Regions from separate parts of the Homo sapiens genome. Here all the other regions are linked to region 1. Evidence: promoter capture Hi-C in 16 types of primary human blood cells and fetal thymus (Javierre and others, 2016). All regions are on one chromosome and are shown on one strand. The core of a region is centred on a gene start or on the middle of the fragment in contact, and the rest is flanking DNA. Distances in the headings are between cores, read along the strand shown.

Region 1 (2,700 bases), core at 14-2,513:
CTCCCAGCCTCCGATAGCGCCCGCGTCGCCGCCACAGCAGCGTTCAGGACCCAACGAGGGGCCCAGGGCCATGGGAGCCGCCAGAGTCCTGGCTTCCAGACGTGCCAGGGGCGCCTGCAACGCCGGGCCTCCAGCGGGGAGACTCCACTTGCCTCTCAGCTATATTTGTGATTTACTTGAGTCTTTCGGAGCCGTGGAAAATAACTACAGAGATACTAGGCACTGCCAAGGAATGCTTCCATTATCGCCCTCATTTTACTCCTGGAGGTCTAAGCAAGACCCCAGTAACCCGCCCCACGGATCCCCAGACCCCAGGCAGCCTCTGTGGCTGCAGGGAGCCTGGGCCCACTCGCTGGGTTCAAGGAGAACCCTCCGACTTGGGGCCCGGCTGGCTCGAGGAACCGGACCCTGTGATGAAGATTTTCCAGGCTGGATACGTAAGCAAATCAAATCGCAAACTAATGACACGAAAACCATATTCACACGAAAGAAAAATCGACTACGGTTATAAAAGTGTATGGAATTTGACCTCGCCTTGGAGAAACACTACACAAAAGCTATCTTTAATAGACGCCTGTCATTTAAGAGCGGCAGGGACACTGTCCCTCATGCGCTCGCAAAAACAGAGCCGTAATTGTAGCTGCTGCTGCTGCGGGCAGGATTTATTTCTCCAATTGGCTAAATGGCTTTCCCCCTTCCCCGAAGGTGATATCTGTATTTTCAAAATTCAGAGCTGCTGGCAGGACGGTCAGTACCGACCCCAACCTCGACACAAAAATAAGAGGGGCTGCAAAACGGGGGAAATAAAGTTGTTGTAAATAAAATGCAAGTCACCACCTCCCCCCAATCCTCTGCATCCTCGCCGGGCGCGCGATCGGCAGCTGACGGCCTAACAATTGGTACATCCTAATGGAACTGCGAGGGAAATGCAATAATTTTGCCATAATGGGCTGTAACCTCAATTCGACCCCGGCCCTTGCAGCCCCCGGTCGGAAGCTGGGCGATGAGCCCTGCCTCCAGCGGGTGGCGCTCGAGTCCGGCTGAACGGCGGCAACTGGCGGCGGGCACGCGCCCGGGGCGCGCGCGCCACCCCCCTCGCCTCCACCCAACTCCCCTATTAGTGCACGAGTTTACCTCTAGAGGTCATCAGGCAGGATTTACGACTGGACAACAAAAGCACGTGATTCGAAGTCGTACCCCATATTTGGGTGCCTACGTAGGAGGGAACCAAGTACATGTCCCAGTCATTTCCATAATTCATCATAAATTGTGCAAGGGTGCTATAGACGCACAAACGACCGCGAGCCACAAATCAAGCACACATATCAAAAAACAAATGAGCTCTTATTTTGTAAACTCATTTTGCGGTCGCTATCCAAATGGCCCGGACTACCAGTTGCATAATTATGGAGATCATAGTTCCGTGAGCGAGCAATTCAGGGACTCGGCGAGCATGCACTCCGGCAGGTACGGCTACGGCTACAATGGCATGGATCTCAGCGTCGGCCGCTCGGGCTCCGGCCACTTTGGCTCCGGAGAGCGCGCCCGCAGCTACGCTGCCAGCGCCAGCGCGGCGCCCGCCGAGCCCAGGTACAGCCAGCCGGCCACGTCCACGCACTCTCCTCAGCCCGATCCGCTGCCCTGCTCCGCCGTGGCCCCCTCGCCCGGCAGCGACAGCCACCACGGCGGGAAAAACTCCCTAAGCAACTCCAGCGGCGCCTCGGCCGACGCCGGCAGCACCCACATCAGCAGCAGAGAGGGGGTTGGCACGGCGTCCGGAGCCGAGGAGGACGCCCCTGCCAGCAGCGAGCAGGCGAGTGCGCAGAGCGAGCCGAGCCCGGCGCCGCCCGCCCAACCCCAGATCTACCCCTGGATGCGCAAGCTGCACATAAGTCATGGTAAAGCCAGCCTTTTTCTAAATCCACGCGACCGCGGGGACGCGGCTCTCGGTCCCCCCTCTCTTCTCTGCCGCCCTCTCCCAGTCTCTCTTGGTCTCATTTCTCCCAGCCCTGCGGAGCTCTCCTTGCCGTTCTCCCTCCCCTGCCTTCCTCCTTCCTCCTCTTCTTTGCGAGCACCCTGCGCTCACAAATAGTGGGGGAAATGGGCGTTCTCTGGGACAGTTTAGACGTTGGAAGGGGGAGGAAGCAAAAAACCCCTCTGGAACCCCACGCCTTGGGACGCGCTCCCGGGTCAGGCCAGCCGAGCAAGGCGCAGAGAGGTAGAGGATGGCTGTAGCAGCCGTGAATCGGGCTTGTCACGGCGGATAATTTATGAGGAGGGCTACGCTGGGGAAACAGCGTTACTAATTACAGCCCCCGAAAAGGGGCTTGGGGGAAAGAATCGAGGCGAGAGCCTGCAGGATTCTGAATTTTGGGGGCAGGAGGGAGAGAGAAGGAAAGGGAAGAAAAAGAAAACAGGCTCCCCAACCCTGCAGGCTGGAAACGGGAGGCGGCTCTCGGGGCTGGAACTTTGAGGGAGGGTGACCCGAAGGCCACTTGGGCGCTCAGGAAAGGGCCTTGCTTCCTGGGTTTCTGTGCGGTGGGCAGCCTGGGAGGGCTGTGCCTCCCGATCGGGGCGCCCGGGGCAGGGCGGAGGGGGCAGGAGAGGGGCCAGGGAAAGCCGGAGTCCGCCGGGACACGGCCCCAGCCTCAGATGGGCAGATTGTTCCCAGGGTCCAAATCGTATTGTTTTCTTTCTAGA
Region 2 (2,700 bases), core at 88-2,587, 990 kb after region 1:
GGGCTGAAAACAGGGCGAAGGTCCTTGCGTTAGGCCGGGAGAGTCGTTCTTAAAAACATGCATCCTCCCAGAGGTCACGGCCTCCTTCACATCGTCCAGGTCGGGCACGGGTCCCAGAGAACGACACCCCAGTGTACATGAGGTACTGAGCGAAGACAGTGGGCATTGCTTCTCCCCTCCCCATCCCCGAACTACTCTTGCCAGCCATCACACACAAGGAAAGGTATTCTCTATAACCAAACGGATGATTTCGTCCACTTCTTCCTTAAACACCTAAAAACCACAGCGACAGCACTAGTAGCCCTTCATTCGGAATCAGAGCAGCAGCATCTGCGAACCTGCAAAGACCAGGGGCTAAGGGTGCCAGGACACAGCGAGAGTGGCCCCTGCTCAGATCCGACACAAGCCTCGGGGGCTCCCGGCGGCGTAGACGCCGCACTTCGCTCGCTTCCCGCTCTGCACCTACCTCGCTCGCACATCCGCCAGCGTCCGGCACCTGAGCCGTCGGTTCCGCGGGTGCCTTCTCCTCTTCCCCGGCGTCCAAGGGGCCACTCCGAGCCGCTCGGGGGTCCCCGCCGCCCCCCTGCACAGCCTGGCTGCCGCCGTCCACGCTGGCGCCGGCTCCTCCGGTGGACGAGGCGGCGGCGGCGCCGAGCAGCCCGTGGGCCTCGTCCGCGCTCCCGGCAGCCACGCTGTGCACCAGCCATGCATCCACGCTGGTGCGAGGGACGAAGGGGACCCCGAGCGCGCGCACCTCCCGGAGCAGCTGGCCCTCGGGCGGCGCGGCAGGGTCCAGCTCCCGGCCCTTGGGGTGCAAGTGGCCCGCGCGCCCCCACCCTCCCGAGGCCGAGAAGGGGCTGAGCGCGTAGGCGGAGCTGGCCGGGCCGCCCAGGAACAGCAGCTCGTCCTGCAGCAGGGTGGGCGGCGGCAGCAGCAGGTAAAGATCTAGGTCTACGCGGAGCCCCGCCAAGCTCAGCAGGAGGGTGAGGTGCAGGAGGCCGCCGCCGGCCGACCACCACCGCTTCAGGTGCTTCATCGCCGCCGCGCGCCCGGGAACGCCCCTGCCGGCGCCCGCGGGTCCCGGCGCCCCAGCCGCCGGGGTGACACGTGCGGACCCCGCGCGCCGCCCGCACCTGCCTGGAACCCAGATAAGCGAAACAATGGACCGGGGCGCGTGGCGGCCGTCGCGGGTTCCCAGCACCGGGCACAAAGGCGTTCCCTCGGCAGCCGGCACCGTGCCTGGCACCGCCGGGGATCGGGAGAAGCGAAGAAGGAGCCACCTGAGCGCCGAGCCCGTTCGCCCAGCCGCCCGCAGCCCGGCGCGGTGGCCAAGCTCCGCCCCCGGCCGCGGGCGCAGCCGACAGGAACACGCCCCCTGCCGCCCGGGGCCCGCGCCCGTGGGAGGGGCCGCACGGGGCGGGGCTCCCCGAGCTCAAAGCCTCTTTATGTCCGGGGAACGCAAGGCTTTCTGGGAGCAGAAGTTGTTCTGGGCACCAAGTGGCCCCTTGCCACCCTGTGGCCGTGAGCTGGGCCATCCTTGCTGAAAGCCAAGGGCGGGAGTTGGGGTGGAGGGCTAGGTGGTGGGTAGCTGGGTGGGAAGGGACAGGATGTGTAGACTGGGCGGAGAGTGACTGGGCAGCTACGAGGGGCCTGGCAGCTTGCAACGGGCTTCCACCCCAACGTGAGGACACTTGGCGGGCAGAGTGGGCAAGAGTAACCTCTCTGTCTCAGTTCCGCTATCTGTAAAATGGGGATCATAGAGCCTGTCAAACAGGGATGTGTTGAGGTCAGATGAAATATTTCGTGTAAAGTTCGGAGTTTCACATATAAATTCCACCGTTGCCATTGGGATCAGTCATCCCACCACTCCGCACACCCCAGTCCCAGCCTCACAGACCCCTCTCTCTTCTCTGGGCGTGCTCTGCATAGTGCTAGACCTCCTCTCGGTATCCTTTGCTCCTTATCCGTTGTTTCCTTGAGGGTTGACAGCACCAGCTCTACAGTTACCCTGAGTGAGTTCAAGTCCCCCCTCCACTTGAGGGGCGACCTTGGACAAATCTCTCCTTTTCTCTGTGCCTCAGTTTTCTCACTGTAAAATGAGACTAATAATAGCACCTCCCCAGCAGACCTTTTGTGAGCCCCAAATGAGATAATGCATGTAAACCACCGACCACAGCACTGCATGGGTAGGAAGTGCTCCCTGCTACCCATTGTTTGTGTTACTCACCCTCAAGGCTTAGCTCCAAAGCTACATCCTCTGAATTTTCACCAGTTGGCATTAATCTCTCCCCCATCTGTTGCACCGTGATTTCTCCGTTTGCCAACATTGTAACAGTTGGCCCATTCAACTCTGTGTTGTAGATGAGAATCGGTCTGATTTGCCCATTGTAAATTCTTGAGGACAAGGAACCTGTTTGGTTCACCTTTGTCCATGCACAGTACCCAGCACTGGGCCTTGCAAGGGTAGGTTTTACTAACCTTAGCTCCCTTCCTTGGAAGAAAAGGGGACAGGAGGGGATGCCCAACTGAGAATGGGCAGTTGTGTAAAAAGTTGAGCAAGACTTGTTTTAAAAGGCCCCTCCCTCCACCTGGCTTTCTCATCTCTCTCCTGGGCTAGTGTAGTAAGAAGAGAAAAGAATGGGGACCAGGGGAGCAGAAACAGGGGAGCAGAGGAAAGTTGCTTCCTCTGTGTTAAGCCTT
Region 3 (2,700 bases), core at 136-2,635, 860 kb after region 1:
GATATGGTGGTGCGTGCCTGTAATCCCAGCTTCTTGGGAGGCTGAGACAGGAGAATCACTTGCACTGGGAGGCAGAGGTTGCAGTGAGCCAGGATCCCGCTACTGCACTCCAGCCTGGGTGACAGAGTGAGACTCTCTCTCTCAAACAAAAAAAAAAGAAAGAAACTCTGCCTACTGAGAAGATCACCATAACATTGCTTTTAAAAACAAACATCAAAATTCTTAATAGATGAGCATTTTAACCCTGAGAAGACTGAAAATTGAGTATGAGATGTGTGAAAGATTCAAGCCTGAAATATTAATATTTTGTTTTAAGGAATCTGGGCACATTTGGAATTCTATGTGCATGTTAATGTGTAAGACAACTTGGCCTACTGGAGTAACCATTTGCCTTGTACTTTAAGTTTTAAAATGTGTAATTTAATAGCTGGATACTAATGAGTTGAAGATAGTCTTATTAACTTAATAAAGTGTTGGAACACTCACTACAATTTAAGATTTACCACATTTATAAATTTAATTTATTAGATGTTGAGTTACTTGTTAATCAGACAATTAAAGACCTTTACAAGGGAAACAAATATATTAAATTCACGAATGAAGTTTAAAATGTTTAGAGGTGATTAAGTTAATGGGATCAAACATTAATCAAATGCCTTTTTGGTTGTTAAAGTTTGCTAGAGTTATAAATGGAATAAGATCACGTGTGATATTGTAAAATATGTATTTGGTCATCATCCCCATTTCCTGGTATAAAATTCTTAAAATCCTTAGAATCTCCAAAGTGATTTTTTTTGTATGCTAATGAGTTGACTGGTGGCTGGCAGCCCCTAGGTAGCTTCAGGAAGGGGCTAGTCACTGGAAAGACCACACCCTGATTAGAGGGTCAGTACTTCCAGCCCCATTCCGCAATTTCTGTGGGGTGGGGAAGGGCTGAAGATTGAGTTGATCACCAATGAACAATGGTTTAATCAATCATGCCTACATAATGAAGCCTCCATAAACACACAAGAGGACAGGGTTCAGAGAGCTTCAGGATAGCTGAACATTTACAGGTGTATGGAGGGTGGTCCACCTGAGAAGGGCATGGAAGCTCCATGCCCCTTCCCCCATGCCTCGCTCTATGCATCACTTCATCTGTATCCTTTGTACCATCTTTCTGATAAATGTATCTGTTTCCCACAGTTCTGTGAGCCACTCTAGCAAATTATTTGAACCTAAGGAGGGGGTCATGGGATCCCCAATTTATAGCTGATCAGTCAGAAACACAGGTAAAACCGCCTGAGCGGAGCTTGCAATTGTCATCAGAAGTGGGAGGAGGCAATCTTGTGGGATTGAGCCCTCAACCTGTTGGATCTGACACTGTCTCCAGGTAGGTGGTGTCAGAATTGAACCGGGGACGGGCGCAGTGGTTCATGTCTGTGATCCCAGCACTTTGGGAGGCCAAGGAGGTTGGATCACTTGAGGTCAAGGGTTCGAGACCAATCTGGCCAACATGGTGAAACCCCGTCTCTACTTAAAATACAAAATTAGCTGGGCGTGGTGGCCCATGCCTGTAATCCCAGCTACTCGGGAGGCAGAGGTGGCAGTGAGCCAAGATTGTGCCACTGCACTCCAGCCTGGGCAACAGTGAGACTCCATCTCAAAAAAAAAAAAAAGAGGAATTGAACTGTGGTGGAGAACACCCAGCTGGTGACAGCTGCAGAATTAACTGGTTGCTTGGTGTGTGGGGAGAAACCTCCACACCTTTGGTCACAGAAGCCTTCCATGTTGACTACGGAGTGAGAGCAGAAGAAAAATTTTTTCCACAGAGTTAGGAAAACTTTAAAAACTAAGGAATAATTATACTCTTAAACTTGTAACTTTAACAAATCAAATATTCTAAAAATAGCATCAAAACAATATTTTCTGTTCACAAGAACTACTCTTGGAGGCGTACACACACACACAAACCACATAAACAATTATGACCAGGCCAGGCATGGTGGCTCACGCCTGTAATCCTAGCACTTTGGGAGGCCAAGGCGGGCAGATCACCCGAGGTCAGGAGTCCCAAGACCAACCTGGCCAACATGGTGAAAACCCATCTCTACTACAAATACAAAAAATTAACCAGGCATGGTGGCACATACCTGTAATCCCAGCTACTCGGGAGGCTGAGGCAGAAGAATTGCTTGAACCTAGAGGGGGAAGTTGCAGTGAGCCGAGATTGCGCCACTGCACTCCAGCCTGGGCAACAGAGCGAGACTCCATCTCAAAAAAAAAGAAAAAATATATATATAATCATTTCTGCCTCTCTTGGTATAATGTCCTTATGCTGGGGAAAGATATTTTATTCTGTGTCTTATGGACTATCTTCTCGGTTCTTTGTATTTAGGGCTGTAACGGGAGCATTTGAGGAACATTTTGCTTTCTTGTATTTGTGGTAGATGTACTACTACACCAGCTTCATAGGGCTGTTGTGGAGTTTAAATGAAATAACCCGGGTAAAGCTCTTGTGCTGGGTCAACAGTAAGTGTTCAGTAAATTGTAGCTATTATTATAACTTGATCCTTTTCTCCAATCTCTCCTGTCTCGAAGCTAAGTGCACTTAGTTACATACACTAAGGAAAGCCACCTCCACCCCCTGTCCTTCCTCCATCTCTTGGGAAAATTGCAAAATCCACAGAGAGTAAAAATGGAAGTTGCCTGGACTTGATG
Region 4 (2,700 bases), core at 60-2,559, 950 kb after region 1:
GAATAGTGAAATAAAAACTTTGGGTCATAAGTAATGAACCAAGAGTTATTTTCTGATGTTTAAAAATAGAAATTTGCGTTTTTAGGTTGTAGGGTTGAAATTTTTGGTAAAGATTCTTTAATAATCCTTTGATAATCACGGTCTACATTTGTTTATTTTTCCTTAGAAAGTTTTTTTTTTAATTAATAATTTAAGATAATTTAATGTTGAGTAAATTTATATCAAGCATTAATGACTTTGAAACTTGTGTAGATCAGCTGAGGCAATTTTTTGGTGTAACACAACTAATATGCAGTTTAACATATGGTTTAAATTTGATGTAAGTTTTTTTTTTCCCCCCAGAAAACTTTAGAAACTGTTCCTTTGGAGAGGAAAAAGGTACTCTGCCAGCAGGTCACCTCATATTTAAGAATTTAATTTCCTGCATACAAAGAGGAAAATGTAAATAAAAATTGAAATGGTATTTTCCTTTGCAGAGAGAAAAGGAACAGTTCCGTAAGCTCTTTATTGGTGGCTTAAGCTTTGAAACCACAGAAGAAAGTTTGAGGAACTACTACGAACAATGGGGAAAGCTTACAGACTGTGTGGTATGTAAATTACTGAATTGTTACTGGATATTAGTCTTTTAGCTGTATGTTAAGTGAATCATGGAGGAAATAACTATCAGCATAGTAAAAAATTCTATTATGACTTCACTTATAAGCTATAATGAGATTAAATGCTAAAGTTTACCCTTTGGTTTGAAAGGTAATGAGGGATCCTGCAAGCAAAAGATCAAGAGGATTTGGTTTTGTAACTTTTTCATCCATGGCTGAGGTTGATGCTGCCATGGCTGCAAGACCTCATTCAATTGATGGGAGAGTAGTTGAGCCAAAACGTGCTGTAGCAAGAGAGGTAAGCAAACAATGACTGTCTTGTGCATTAACATGAAGAACGCTGCCCTGCTGAAAATCAGAAACTATTTCTGAATTTAGTTTTAACTCAAGATTTTTTCTCTTATTAAAGGTGTGTTGGGTTTCTGGACCATTTTCTTAAGCTAGCTTATTTTTCAAAAGCTAGGTCCCTAAAAGCTATTTTATATCTGGTAGTTTTAAGGTGGATACAAGCGAAGTATGGTACTACGGTTGGGTGCTTTGAATTATGCTTGTGTTTTTTTCTGTTTGGATGACTTTTACCCCACCACTATTTTAGGAATCTGGAAAACCAGGGGCTCATGTAACTGTGAAGAAGCTGTTTGTTGGCGGAATTAAAGAAGATACTGAGGAACATCACCTTAGAGATTACTTTGAGGAATATGGAAAAATTGATACCATTGAGATAATTACTGATAGGCAGTCTGGAAAGAAAAGAGGCTTTGGCTTTGTTACTTTTGATGACCATGATCCTGTGGATAAAATCGTATGTAAGTGTCTAACCACAAATGTACTGTTTTTTTCCAGTGTATTCAATTTTGTGTATGTTAACATCTGTAACTTTATTGAAAGGTAAACTTTTGAAGCTGCTTAATATTGTTGATTTAATTTAAAAGGAGTCTGAATTTTTCATTCCAGTGCAGAAATACCATACCATCAATGGTCATAATGCAGAAGTAAGAAAGGCTTTGTCTAGACAAGAAATGCAGGAAGTTCAGAGTTCTAGGAGTGGAAGAGGAGGTAATTTTAATTCTGTTTCTTCTTTATTTTTGTTCATATATAAGGGCTTGCTTCTAACTGGGGCATTTATTGTAGGCAACTTTGGCTTTGGGGATTCACGTGGTGGCGGTGGAAATTTCGGACCAGGACCAGGAAGTAACTTTAGAGGAGGATCTGGTGAGTTTCAAGTTCTACGTGTTTAAAGGATGAGTGTGCTTTTATTTTAAATATGATTAGGTTTTCATTAGTAGAATCAAGAAATCCAACCTAAGTCAATTTTCCTAAGACTTCAAATAGATTGTATCCTGGCAAGCTCTTGTGATTTGGCCAGACAAGAAGTTAATAGAGTTGTATTAATAACAGTTGTATTTATCTGGATTAATAATGTAACATGAAGTGTCATCCGAAAAGCTTTGACCCCCATCAAGTGTCATTCTTACGTATAAATAGGATGGAATCTCTAAGATTGAGACTTGTTAAGAGTCCAAAATTTAGGCGGTAGATTTAATTATATGCTTTCATGTTTTGTGGGTAAACTGGTAGCACTGGTGTGTCCTTTTCTGCGGTTCTTAATTATTGTGCTGAGGTAGTAAGAGAACTGAAAATGAATATTAGCAATAATGCTGAACAGTTTATAGTAAACGTAATCTTTTTTTGGCCCCTAACAGATGGATATGGCAGTGGACGTGGATTTGGGGATGGCTATAATGGGTATGGAGGAGGACCTGGAGGTCAGTTTTCCTCTACGTTTTGGTTTGTTTATGTGACTAATACTTAACTATATCGTATATTTACTTCATTTATATTTTGAGTTTTTAAACATTTTATATTAGTGTCTATAAATGGCTTGGGTGATAGTGGTCCAGTTATTTCTAAGTAGTTTTGCCATCTTAGCTGTTATAGCCTAAGGAATAGAGTGCCATTTTAAATGAAAATGTAAAGATAACCATCAGAGTATCTCATCTTTTCTCAAGCAAAATGATTGGATCTAGATATATCTTTGTACGTGCTTCTCTGGAAAAGTACAGAATACTGGATTTAACAGAGTAAAACCTAAGGGGGTGGTATA

The links. The method cuts DNA at HindIII sites, captures the fragments that hold promoters and counts their contacts. A CHiCAGO score of 5 or more calls a contact.
Region 2: the fragment with the promoter of NFE2L3 here is called in contact with the fragment with the promoter of HOXA5 in region 1 in 2 of 17 cell types (endothelial precursors and erythroblasts); the score reaches 6.6 in endothelial precursors.
Region 3: a fragment that was not itself captured here is called in contact with the fragment with the promoter of HOXA5 in region 1 in 1 of 17 cell types (neutrophils); the score reaches 7.2 in neutrophils.
Region 4: a contact is called between a fragment that was not itself captured here and the fragment with the promoter of HOXA5 in region 1, in 1 of 17 cell types (endothelial precursors). The highest score is 6.1, in endothelial precursors.

Annotation. Positions count from the first base shown.
Region 1 is chr7:27,142,244-27,144,943 of GRCh38, reverse strand. It overlaps HOXA5 (homeobox A5), which reads left to right and starts at 1,263. Exons shown (of 2, transcript NM_019102.4): 1 at 1,263-1,898. The coding sequence starts at 1,337. All of the region lies in intron 1 of HOXA3 (homeobox A3), which reads left to right. The region is part of intron 1 of HOXA-AS3 (HOXA cluster antisense RNA 3); the gene reads right to left. The HindIII fragment of the contact is 13,335 bases long and covers 1-2,700 here.
Region 2 is chr7:26,150,835-26,153,534 of GRCh38, reverse strand. NFE2L3 (NFE2 like bZIP transcription factor 3) reads right to left here and starts at 1,337. Exons shown (of 4, transcript NM_004289.7): 1 at 467-1,337. The coding sequence starts at 1,036. RefSeq lists enhancers at 249-438, 1-582, 583-1,377 and silencers at 559-628, 639-888, 999-1,068, 1,079-1,148, 1,169-1,548. The HindIII fragment of the contact is 3,470 bases long and covers 1-2,700 here.
Region 3 is chr7:26,287,258-26,289,957 of GRCh38, reverse strand. No RefSeq gene overlaps it. Among named protein-coding and RNA genes, the nearest start is that of SNX10, 3.3 kb to the left of the region's middle. The HindIII fragment of the contact is 6,235 bases long and covers 1-2,700 here.
Region 4 is chr7:26,195,509-26,198,208 of GRCh38, reverse strand. HNRNPA2B1 (heterogeneous nuclear ribonucleoprotein A2/B1) reads left to right here. Exons shown (of 11, transcript NM_002137.4): 2 at 477-587; 3 at 748-894; 4 at 1,192-1,402; 5 at 1,551-1,652; 6 at 1,728-1,808; 7 at 2,300-2,362. Among named protein-coding and RNA genes, the nearest start is that of HNRNPA2B1, 3.9 kb to the left of the region's middle. The HindIII fragment of the contact is 1,470 bases long and covers 575-2,044 here.